Linked DNA regions of Homo sapiens: regions 1 and 3 are each linked to region 2. Evidence: promoter capture Hi-C in human tissues and cell types (Jung and others, 2019). All regions are on one chromosome and are shown on one strand. Each heading gives the region's core, a stretch centred on a gene start or on the middle of the fragment in contact. The rest is flanking DNA. Distances are from core to core; before and after follow the strand shown. Region 1 holds the start of WTIP (WT1 interacting protein). Region 2 holds the start of LSM14A (LSM14A mRNA processing body assembly factor). Region 3 has its middle 3.2 kb from the start of SUNO1.

Region 1 (3,834 bases), core at 109-2,608, 310 kb after region 2:
CGCCTGTACTCCTACGTACTCAGGAGTCCGAGGTGGGAGGATTGCTTGAGCCCAGGAGGTTGAGACTCTGGGGTGTGTGTGATCACTGTGAGCTGTGATCACACCACTGTACTCCAGCCTGGGGGACAGAGCGACACCTTGTCTGAAAAAAACAAAACAGCGCAACTCCCCCACCCTCCGCGCACACGAAATGCTTGCTTCCACTTCCCCTACCCTGGTGGGGCAGGGGCTGGAACTCCGCAGGCTATGGGAAGGTGCTGGGGTTAGCGGCCCCAGCGGGTGCTCAGTGGTGTTGAGGCCACACTGCCCTGGGCGGTCTGGCCGGGACAGTTCCCGTGCGGGCTCCCTGCGCGCTGAGCCACTGTAGGCGCCTTCCCGAAAATCTCTGAGCAGAGAGGGCCTGGAAAACAGTACTCTCTCACGCAACACTTTTCTTGGATCCATCAGGCCCTGACAGATAACGGTTTGGTTTTCTTCCCTATAGCCGTGTGACTTGTACAAGGGATTTTAGTTGTGTCCTTGGGCACGAAGCCCTAGTCACCTCTCGATTCCCCACCTATGTGGCCCCTATGGCCCCGCTGGTTCCAGGACCTCCCCTCGAAGCCTCACCCACCACCCTGGATGCAGGTGCTGGAAAAGGGAGGAGTCCCCATATTTCACGGGGACTGCCTGTGATGGCCACAGGGGAGGCTCGCCGCCCACCGGCTCTGAGCCTGAGGCCTGCTTCTAGCCTGGCCTTGGGGGCCTGGGCGAAGCGACCCAGCGCGAGGACCAGTCCCCAACCAACCCGCTCCTAGTTCTGGGCGCCTTCCCCAGCAGTCAGATGGGGGCTTCAGAGGCCGGTGCGCGGCCACATGGCCCCGGGCCAGGCAGGGGGTCGTGGGGACGCATCTGCGCTAGGCGCACAGTATTCCTGGGCGCGGGACGGGCGAAGCGCCGTGGGTTCCAAGCTGAGCTGGGTCGGCCCTGCAGCGCCGGAGAGCAAGGCGGCGCAGGGAAGGGAGATGGGGCGGGATGTGGGGAAAGCTGTCGACTGCTTGGATCTCTCCGGCCCGGATGGCGCCAGCTGCCTCCAGCTCAGCCTGCGGAAATCCGAGCTCTTCCCAGCGGCCCGACGGCCCGGGCGCCCCGCAGACCCTGGGCTCTCCCCGCGGTGCCTCCGCCGCCCGCCCCTGCGTCCTGGCCCGGCCTCCACGCCCCTCCGAGGTCCCGGCGCAGCGCGGCCGCCGCCACTCCCCCCACATTCCAGAGGCCGCAGCGCCGTCTCCTTCCTCGCATTCCTGCCCCCGCAAAGGAGTCCCTCCGCCCCGCGCGAGGCCGCGGCGAGGAGGGGGCGCGGCCCGGCGCCTGGGAGCTTACATTCCTCCGCCGCGCGCGCCGCCGAGCAGGGCGCCGCGTCCCCCGGCCCGCGCGTGGCCGCCGGAACGACCCCGGCCCGGCGCCGGCCCCGCCCCGCCCCGCGCCCAGGGGTCCCGGGGCGGGCTCCGGGCTTCGGGCGGACGATGCGGCGGCCCGGCCGGAGCGGCGGCGGGAAGCGGAGGCGGAGGTGACGCGCCAGGGCCGGCGGGCCGGGCCATGCAGCGCTCCAGGGCGGGCGCGGACGAGGCGGCCCTACTCCTGGCCGGGCTGGCCCTGCGGGAGCTGGAGCCCGGGTGCGGCTCTCCCGGTCGGGGGCGGCGGGGGCCGCGGCCTGGGCCTGGAGACGAGGCGGCGCCCGCGCTGGGCCGCAGAGGGAAGGGCAGCGGCGGCCCCGAGGCCGGGGCGGACGGACTGAGCCGCGGGGAGCGGGGTCCCCGGCGCGCGGCGGTTCCGGAGCTCAGCGCGCAGCCTGCGGGCAGCCCACGGGCCAGCCTGGCGGGGTCCGACGGCGGCGGCGGTGGCGGCAGCGCCCGATCCAGCGGCATCAGCCTGGGCTACGACCAGCGCCACGGCAGCCCGCGCTCCGGTCGCTCGGACCCGCGTCCCGGTCCCGGGCCGCCTTCGGTGGGCAGCGCCCGCTCCAGCGTTTCCAGCCTCGGCTCCCGGGGCTCGGCCGGCGCCTACGCTGACTTCCTCCCGCCCGGCGCCTGCCCCGCGCCCGCTCGCTCCCCGGAGCCTGCGGGGCCGGCTCCCTTCCCGCTGCCTGCACTCCCGCTGCCCCCTGGCCGGGAGGGCGGCCCAAGCGCGGCCGAGCGGCGGCTGGAGGCGCTCACCCGGGAGCTGGAGCGGGCGCTCGAGGCGCGCACGGCGCGGGACTACTTCGGTGAGCTCGCTCGGCCCGGCAGTTCCCTGCGCGCATGGCTGGGGTCCGGGGTTCCGAGACTGCCTCGGGTAGGCGGCCGGATCAGCGGAGGAGAGCACGGGGCTGGCTGGGGGTGCAGCAGTGCACGGGGTTGGGACGAGGAAGGTGCATCCCCTGGGGACTGGGGAGCGCAAAGGGTGAGTGAGTGCGCCTGGATCCCCAGCAGCGGCTTCACCCCTGCCTCTGGGTCCCCCGACACACGAGGGGTTCTGGCCGAGTGAGTTGATGTGCGGTTCCTAACTTAACAGGCAAGTCAGGTTCATGGGCACACTGAGCCATTTTCTGATAATTTTTTCTTCTTTCTTCTTTTTTTTTTTTCTTTCTTCTTTTTTTTTTTTTTTTGAGACAGGGTCTTCCTCTGTCGCCGAGACTGGAGTGCAGCGGCGCGTCCTCGGCTTACTGTAGCCGTCGCCTCTCAAGCTGAAGCGATCCTCTCGCCTCAGCCTCCCGAGAAGCTGGGACTACAGGTGCACACCACCATGCCCAGCTTTTCTTCTTCTTACTTTTTTTTTTTTTTTTTTTTTGTAGAGACAGAGTCTCCCTATGTTGCCCAGGCTGGTCTTAAACTCCTGGGCTCAAGCGATCCGCCCTCCTCGGCCTCCCAAGGTGCTAGGATTACAGGCTTGAGCCAGTGCGCCCGGCCTGATCTTTTCTTCTTTGCGTTTGGTGCTCTCATTCTATCTGATCCTTTCATGCTTCGTGATGAGCAGAAAGGGGTGCTTCCCCGTCTGCCCCGCCACGGTATGGGTGTGGACAGCAACCGGGAGATGGAGTGGCCCAGGTACCACCGGATACCGCCTGACCCAGGCTTTGGTGATGGTAGCGGCTGGAGAGGGAGACTGTGTGAGGGAAGAAAAGCCCACTTTGCGGGAGAGGGGAACCGTGCCAGTCACACGGGGCTGCCCTCGCCCGGACTGTGCTGTGGACATAGGATGTTTCCTAAAGGAATCCTGCTGCAGGTGCATCTGCAAAGCCCAGCAGCCTCACAGCCTCCACTTCCCAGTGTGGCCCAGGCCCCCTGATCTCTAGTTCTTGGGACAGCTCTTGGGGTGAGATTGTGAGCGGGGCAGAGGTATACTGTGGGGCCTGGGGCGAGAACTTCCCAACCCGCCTTCTGTATTAAGCACCTGGCTTTGGTGGATGGATGGTCACCATGCCTGGGACCGTGGCTGTCCTGGGGTTTGTGTCTTTGAGCGTTCAATGGTGTCAGCAGCTCACGGCTGCCCTGAACTGGATCTTTTTTTTTTTTTTTTTTTTTTTTTTTTGAGACGGAATCTCGCTCTGTCGCCAGGCTGGAGTGCAGTGGCGTGATCTTGGCTCACTGCAACCTCCGACTCCCTGGTTCAAGCGATTCTCCTGCCTCAGCCTCCCCAGTAGCTGGGATTACAGGCATGCGCCACCACGCCCAGCTAATTTTTGTATTTTTAGTAGAGGCGGGGTTTCACCATGTTGGCCAGGATGGTCTTGATCTCCTGACCTCATGATCCGCCTGCCTCAGCCTCCCAAAATGTTGGGATTACAGGCGTGAGCCACCGTGCCCGGCCCTGAACTGG
Region 2 (4,071 bases), core at 1,532-4,031:
GTCGGGAGTTTGAGACCAGCCTGACCAACATGGAGAAACCCCCACTCTACTAAAAATACAAAATTAGCCGGGCTTGGTGGTGCATGCCTGTAATCCCAGCTACTAGGGAGGCTGAGGCTGGAGAATCTCTTGAACCCGGGAGGCGGAGGTTGCGGTGAGCCAAGATCACGCCACTGCACTCCAGCCTGAGCAACAAGAGCGAAACACCGTCTCAAACAAACAAACAAAAAAAGATAGACAATAATAGGTGTTGGTGAGGCTGTGGAGAAAATTGGAGCCCTCATACAATTGCCAGTGGAAATGTAAAATAGTGTAGCTGCTTTGGAAAACAGTTTGACAGTTCCTCAAAAAGTTAAACTCTGAGTTACCATATGGCTCAACTACTTCATTCTTAGGAGGATTGAAAACACATGTTCCCACAAAAACTTGTTCATAGAGGTACTCATGGATATTTATAATAGCAGAAGTGAAAACAACCCAAATGTTCATCAACTGATAAATGGATAAACAAAATATGGTATGTCCATACAAAGGGATATTATTTAGCCTTGAAAGAATTTCCGGGCACGGTGGCTCACGCCTGTAATCCCAGCACTTTGGGAGGCCAAGGCAGGTGAACACTTGAGGCCAGGAGTTCAAGACCAGCCTGGCCAACATGGTGAAACCCATCTCTACTAAAAATACAAAAAATCAGTCAGGCGTGGTGGCATGCGCCTGTAATCCCAGCTACTCGGGAGGCTGAGGCAGGAGAATCGCTTGAACAGAGGAGACAGAGGTTGCAGTGAGCCGAGATGGCACCATTGCACTCCATCCCGAGTGACAGAGTGAGACTGTCTCAAAAAAACAAAAACAAATAATTCAACTTCCTCGCATGGACCTTGTACTGAAACAGGGATTTCCAAACCTTTCTTTGTAGCCACTGTGCACCAGCCCCATCAGAGCTCTGTCTCTCTCCTGTGTCCCTCTCTTATGATGCCAGGCTTCTCGCCATTTGCTCACTCAGCTCACCGTCCTGCCTGTGCTCTGCCTTCATCCTGCTGTTCATTCATGCAGCAAATATTAACTGAGCAGCTGCCCTGAGCCACGTGCTGTTACTAGGCCCCTGATGATACGGCAGCAACCAAAACAACATCACTATCTCAAAATGTTTACATTCTAGTGAAGGAGACAGATACATACAAATAATTAAACAGACATACTTGAGAGAGATACATGCTATAAAGAAAATACAAGCTGAGTTAAGGAGATGAGTGGTATTATTTTAAACAAGGCTGTCAGGGACGTCATCTCTGGAGGTGATGCTTGAGCAGAGACTGGAATAAAGTGCTCAAGTACTGGTTGAATTAGACGCGACTGGAACAGAACGAGAAGCTAAATCATGTATATCCTTAGACACCAAAGTCTGGTTTTCTCTCTGTGTAACATGGGATCAGTAGAGTGAGTAGAGGAAGGACATGATCTGAGTTAGATTTTTTTTTTTTTTTTTGAGACGGAGTCTCGCTCTGTCGCCCAGGCTGGAGTGCAGTGGCACAATCTCGGCTCACCACAACCTCCGCCTCCTGGGTTCAAGCAATTCTCCTGCCTCAGCCTCCCAAGTAGCTGAGACTATAGGCGCGCGCCACCACGCCTGGCTAATTTTTTTATATTTTTAGTAGAGACGGGGTTTCACCATGTTGGCCAGGCTGGTCTCGAACTCCTGACCGGTGATGCGCCCGCCTCGGGCCCCCAAAGTACTGGGAGTACAGGCGTGAGCCACTGCGCCCAGCCCTGAGTTAGATTTTAAGAAGATCTCTCTGGCTGCTGTATTGAGAATAAAGTACTGGGGGCAAGAGTTGACACAGAGGCAACTTTTAGAAGGCTACTGCAATAATTCAGCCCGAGTAATCGTGGCTTGTGGGAGAAGTGTAGGAATGGAGATGAGAAGTCAGATTTAGGATATATTGTGTATACATAACGGAGAGGTGTAGTCAGAACAGATGTGGAAGCAAGACAGGGCAAGGCTGACTCACGGCTTTTAGTCTGAGCAGCTGAGTAAAAATGGTACCGTTTACATCAAATAGGGAACGGTGGTGAAGGAGCAGGTTAGAGGGGAAACAGGGAGCATGGCTTTGGACCCTTAACGTTTGAGATTCGACAGAAACCCTGGTTCACGGAATTGATCCAAGCTACATACTGATAATTGGGATTAGTGAGTTACAATGGCGTTGCAAGCCATGAAACTGGTTCAGACCGGCTGAATGAGCGGGACAGGAAGGGGCTGAAACACTTGAGTCCTTGTGAGAGCCCCAGCTCCAGGGGCAGCCTCGGGGGAAGCTCCCCGGGCGATGACTGCGGTAATGGAGCCGTAGGAGCTCCACGAGGTGCAGGTTCAGCGTCTTAGAAGGATGAGCAGCGGCTCGCCACAGCTCGGAGGCGGGTGGGCAGCGCTCCAGGCCGAGGGCCCCGCGTCGGCAAAGACACAGGACCCACGACAAGGCGGCCACGGCCTGAGTCAAAAGGAAGGCCGCGCGCCTCCTCTCCAGCCCGCAGCAAGCGGGTGCCACGAGGCACTCAGCCGGTCCCCGAAGTTCCTCTCACGCGGCCCCAAGACCACCACCGTAGTCCAGGCCAACAAGCGCTGCCGGGACTCCCGAGGCCACGAATGAGCCGGGAGCCACCAGTAGCCGGCCAAGTCTCGCGAGAGCGCGGCCTCGCCCTCCCAGCATGCCCCGCGCCGCCGCCGCTGCCGCCGCCGCCGCCGCCGCCGCGCCGCGGCTTGAGGGCGGGAGGCTGGGGGAGGGTAGCGGAGCCGGCGCCGCCGCCATGTTGGGTCTGAAGCGGCTGCTGTAGGCGCCGACGGAGCGAGCGGGCGTGCGGAGCGGGCGACAGTGGCGTGGGATCTGCCTCTCTGCGAGCAGCTGGGAGCGGCGGCGGCGGCGCCATGAGCGGGGGCACCCCTTACATCGGCAGCAAGATCAGCCTCATCTCCAAGGCGGAGATCCGCTACGAGGGCATCCTCTACACCATCGACACCGAAAACTCCACCGTAGCCCTTGCCAAAGGTACGCGGGACCGGGCCTCAGGGTGGGGGCCGAGCCGGGCGCCGCTCGGGGCTGCTCCCCGCTCCGGCCCGCGGCCTCCTCGTTCCCTCCCCTCCCTCCGTCGAGCTCCGGGAGGCCTCTCGCCTCCCTTCTCCGGGCCCCGGCGTCGCGGGCCGGACCGCGGCCTCCCCGCGGCTCCCTGGTTTCCGCCCCCCGGAATGTCCGCGCCTGAAGCCCGGGGAACTACGGGACTGAGTGCGCGGCGGGCGGCCCTGAAGTCCGAGAACGGGCCGGAGAACACGGAGAAACGCGTCTTCCAACTCCGAAATTCGGGGCTTCTGCCGTCTTAGCACAAAACAAAGCCGGAGTATTCAAAGAATTTTTCCGCCCAGCTTGAGTTCATCGCGGATGCGTTGACTACACAGCACCCATTTTCTCACTTTGTTCATTTCAATTCGTGGCGATCTTCCTCTGGTGAACTCTTGAGTAATGTGCTAAAACTTTGGGTTTGCTCTGCGACGCAGACATTCTCGAAATGCCATCGATGCCGTGGAGCAGATCCCATCTCCCTCGGCTCATCCTCTGTTGGTATTTACCTGTTAAACCGGAATCCTCAAAGCCTGTTGTGCAACCACCTCATTAGGGCGCGTGGTAAAAATGCTTGCTGCTGCCCCGACGCCCCTGTTTCTGGAAACGGGTTCAAGCTTGATCCAGGATCCTTCTTGACCAGGCAAGCTTGACCTTTGATCCAGGCTCAGTGGGCGTTGACTGATCCCTCTGGAGGCTCTCTGGGAAAGGGAATTCGGCCGAGAAGGAAGGTGCCCCTACCCACAGTGTTAATATTTGGCATCCCTAGAGTCTGTGTGGGTTTTGTTTCCGTTCACACGTGCAGGGCCTTTGCTCCGCCAGGAAACCAGAAAGAAAATAAACTTTAGCTCCTGAATCTTAAAGGAAATCTCACAACAGTGTAAAATACTTTGAGGGAAGCTAGATAACCTAGGTGATTTTCCCAGCACTTCTGGTAGAGGTGGGAACTGCATAGCATGGTTAG
Region 3 (3,974 bases), core at 850-3,349, 270 kb before region 2:
GATTCAAGCGATTCTCCTGCTTAAGCCTCCCAAGTAGCTGGAACTACAGGTACATGTCACCAGGTCTAGCTAATTTTTGTATTTTTAGTAGAGATGGGGTTTCAGCATGTTGCCCAGGCTGGTCTCAAACTCCTGGACTCAAATGATCCACCCCACTTGGCCTCCCAAAGTGTTGGGATTACAAGCATGAGCCACCATGCCTGGCCAGTCTCTGATATTTTAAAACAGATTTTTAAAATTATCTAACTGTTCCAGTTGTTTAAGGTGGGAAGTTTCATTTGATCCAGACTGGCGTTCCAGAGCCAGAAGAAGAGATCTCAACTGTTCCTTTAGCATAATTCCTCACCTATAATGATGGTTAGCATAAAAATTAAGGTTTAGGGTATTGGCTTTGAATTCATAAATTCCATCTGGGTGGGTTTAAAAAGTATAAGTTGGTTAAACTGGTTGGAAAGAGTGGAAAATTATAGTTCTCTGTTAAGATAAATTGTTCTAACTAAATTAGTATAAGAAGCGTTTGAGCAGTCACTGGAAACATACAATACATCCCAGTTAACTTTCCGGTACTTTTTCTCTTAGTGAAGTATACGTTTGTTTTATAGCAGCAAGAATTAGGGATGCTTCTAGCCTTCTCAGCCTTCTGTCAGGCTCTGGGTCATCTTGTAGTATGCTTGTTAGGTCCCTAAGAAGACACTGTGTTTGCCTCTCTGTTTATGCCTCAGGTAAACCCATTCAATAAACATATAGCAATCACATTTAAAGATTCTCATCTTACTTATCCAAAAGTTTCAGAAATTGTCCTTTTAAAGTACAAACATCCATAAAAACCGAGAAGATGGGCCGGGTGTGGTGGTTCACGCCTATAATCCCAGCACTTTGGGAGGCCGAGACGAGCAGATCACCTGAGGTCAGGACTTTGAGACCAGCCTGGCCAACATGGCAAAACCCTGTCTCTACTAAAAATACAAAAAAATTAGCCAGCCATGGTGGCGCATGCCTCTAATCCCAGCTACTTGGGAAGCTGAGGCAACAGAATCACTTGAACCGGGAAGTGAAGGTTGCAGTGAGCCAAGATCGTGCCACTGCGCTCCAACCTGGGTGACAGAGGGGGACTCTGTCTCAAAAAAAAAAAAAAAAAAAAATCCCTGAGAAGAAGAAAAGAATAAACAGAACACACACACAAATAATTTTGCACAGCAGAGTGGAGAGGTGATACAGCCAGCCACTTGTCAAATAACTACAGCTGTTGCAAGCTTGATCTTGGCAGGTTGTTCATGCCACATGGGGAAAAGGGCCTTCAAAGCACAAAGTTCGACCCATTCTGGCAGAGTATCAGGATGAACTAGTTAACCTGAAGGCCAGGCTGCATGCTGGACAAGAACAGCTGGGAAGGCTGAGGGCATCTACTGCAGGCACTCACGTTTTGAAGCACAAGTAGGTTTTATTACCAAGGCTGTGCATAGCCACCAGCGAAAGTATAGGTAAGGCTGCTTAGTGAACTGCTTTGGGAACTGAATGAGCAGAAACGAATCTGTGAGCCCTAGAGACTATCCTCTAAAAAGGCCATGGACTGATTGTATGATAATGTTTGGGCCTCTGAACACAAGTGGGAGATTCAAGACCAGCCACTCAAATCAGATTGCTTCAGTTAATAAAATAAGGGACAATGACAGGAAGTACATGGTGTGGGGGCTGGTCCTCTCAACTCCTTGGAGAGACACACAGAAGAAAAAAAATGGTTTTAGCTAGGCTATAATCACAGAATCTGTTAGGACTAAACGGATCCTCCTTGTAGATAGAGTCTAACGTTAACCACCTTATGTTACAGATGAACAGACACCATGCCGAAAACTCCTTTTCACCTGCCAGTCCTCATATCAAACACTCATTCTTCGGCAAAGGCTTCCCTGCTTCCATTTGGTGGCTCTATCCTTCATTCATTTATTTTCTTTATTTTTCTTCTTTTTTTGTTTTAGAGGGAGTCTTACTCTGTCGCCCAGGCTGGAGTGCAATGGCACGATCTCGGCTCACTGCAACCTCCACCTCCCCAGTTCAAGTGATTCTCCTGCCTCAGCCTCCCTAGTAGCTGGGATTACAGGCATCTGCTACCATGCCCAGCTAATTTTTGTGTTTTTTAGTAGAGATGGGGTTTCATCATGTTGGCCAGGCTGGTCTTGAACTCCTGACCTCAGGTGATCCACCCTCTTCAACCTCCCAAAGTGCTGGGATTACAAGCGTGAGCCATAGCGCCTGGCCTTCTTCATTATTTTCTAATCTCAAGTGTGAGCTCCATCATTTCAGGAGCTCAAGAAAACAAAAGGTCCTCAATATCATTTGCTGAAGGGACACATGAGAAGGGGTATCTGCAAAGTGCACTGAGTCTCCATTGTCCTGAGCCCCAGCCCAGGCAATTCAGCCAGACTCCAATAGCAGTTCAAAAGTTTCAGAACACTCTGAAAAAACAATTTAAACATGATATGAAATATAGAGAATAACAGAATGACCCACCATGTACACATTACTAATGCCCCATCATTTTCCCATCTATATCTTCACACACTTCCCTTGCCCCATCTAAAACTACTTACACACAAATCCCAGATATCCTATCATTCCCTCTAAATATTTTATCCTGTATTTTCAGAAGATAATTTTAAAAATACCACCATAATATTACCGTTTCTAAAAAATTTAAGAAGACTTTTAAAATATCAAATATCCCATCAGTATTGAAATTCACAAGTGTCCTAAAAACGTTAGTTTTTTTTTCTTTTTATCATTTGTTTGATTCAGAATCTAAATGTGATTATTTTCCTTGCAATTCATTATTGAAGAACTGGGTCGTTTATCCTGCGGTTTTACAAGAGCTGGATTGTTTTGATTATGTCCCCATAGTGCTGTTTAACATGTTCCCCTGCAGTTTTCATTTCATGTAAATTAGTACAGGAGTCCCCCCCCATCCTCCAGGATATATTCCAAGACCCCCAGTGGCTGCCTGAAATCATGGACAATAGCAAACCCTACATACTGTAGAGTATGTTTCTTCATATATATATATATATATATGAATGATAAAGTTTAATTTATAAACTAGGCACAGTAAAAGATTAACAACAGTAACTAGGCACAGCAAGAGATTAACAGCAATAACTAATAATAAAATAGAACAATTACAACAATGCACTGTAATAAGAGTTACGTGAATGTGGATGTAGTAACCCAGACGGGTATTGAGTGACTAATGGGCAGGTGGTATGGACAGTGTAGATACACAAGGGGATGATCGCATCAGGGTGGTGGAGTGGCTTCGTTGTCTGGGGTAAATACTTGAGGTTCATTGCCTCATACCAAGGAAATCAAGGATCCAGATGTATGTGAAATGAGGTTAACAGCGGAGGTTTAATAGGCAAAAGAAAGAGAAAAGAGAATAGCACTCTCTCCCACAAGAGACGGGGCGGGGGGGAAGGGGCGGGGCGGGGAGGGGCGGGGCGGGGCGGGGGGCCGGCCGGCAGCCCTGGAGGAGTGCACTGGATTTCATAGATAAGCTTGAGGAGGCGGTGTCCGATTTACATCGGGCCCAAAGATTGGTTGGACTAGGTGTGATGTTTACATAACTCGCAGGGAAGCCGGCTACCCCACCCTAATCTTTTTTTTTATTTTAGACAGAGTCTTGCTGTGTTGCCCAGGCTGGAGCGCAGTGGCGCAGTCTTGGCTCACTGCAACCTCCCAGGTTCAAGCAATTCTCCGGCCTCAGCCTCCCAGGTAGCTGGGATTACAGGCGACCACCACTAGGCCTGGCTAATTTTTGTATTTTTAATAGAGACGGGGTTTCACCACGTTGGCCAAGCTTGTCTTGAACTCCTGAATGCAGGCGACACCTCCTCCCCCGGCCCTCAGCTTCCCAAAGTGCTGGGATTATAGGCTTGAGCCACCTCGCCCAGCCCACCCCACCCTAATCTTATTATGTAAATGGG

The links. Contacts are between HindIII fragments. The study calls those that stand out against the background at their distance.
Region 1: the fragment with the promoter of WTIP here is called in contact with the fragment with the promoter of LSM14A in region 2 in 1 of the 25 tissues and cell types used here (small bowel).
Region 3: a fragment that was not itself captured here is called in contact with the fragment with the promoter of LSM14A in region 2 in 1 of the 25 tissues and cell types used here (aorta).

The regions. Positions count from the first base shown.
Region 1 is chr19:34,480,400-34,484,233 of GRCh38, forward strand. WTIP (WT1 interacting protein) reads left to right here and starts at 1,359. Exons shown (of 8, transcript NM_001080436.2): 1 at 1,359-2,242. The coding sequence starts at 1,576. RefSeq lists enhancers at 432-1,086, 1,087-1,742, 1,743-2,397. The HindIII fragment of the contact is 21,139 bases long and covers 1-3,834 here.
Region 2 is chr19:34,169,723-34,173,793 of GRCh38, forward strand. LSM14A (LSM14A mRNA processing body assembly factor) reads left to right here and starts at 2,782. Exons shown (of 10, transcript NM_015578.4): 1 at 2,782-3,041. The coding sequence starts at 2,921. The HindIII fragment of the contact is 14,704 bases long and covers 1-4,071 here.
Region 3 is chr19:33,899,712-33,903,685 of GRCh38, forward strand. No RefSeq gene overlaps it. Among named protein-coding and RNA genes, the nearest start is that of SUNO1, 3.2 kb to the right of the region's middle. The HindIII fragment of the contact is 3,194 bases long and covers 503-3,696 here.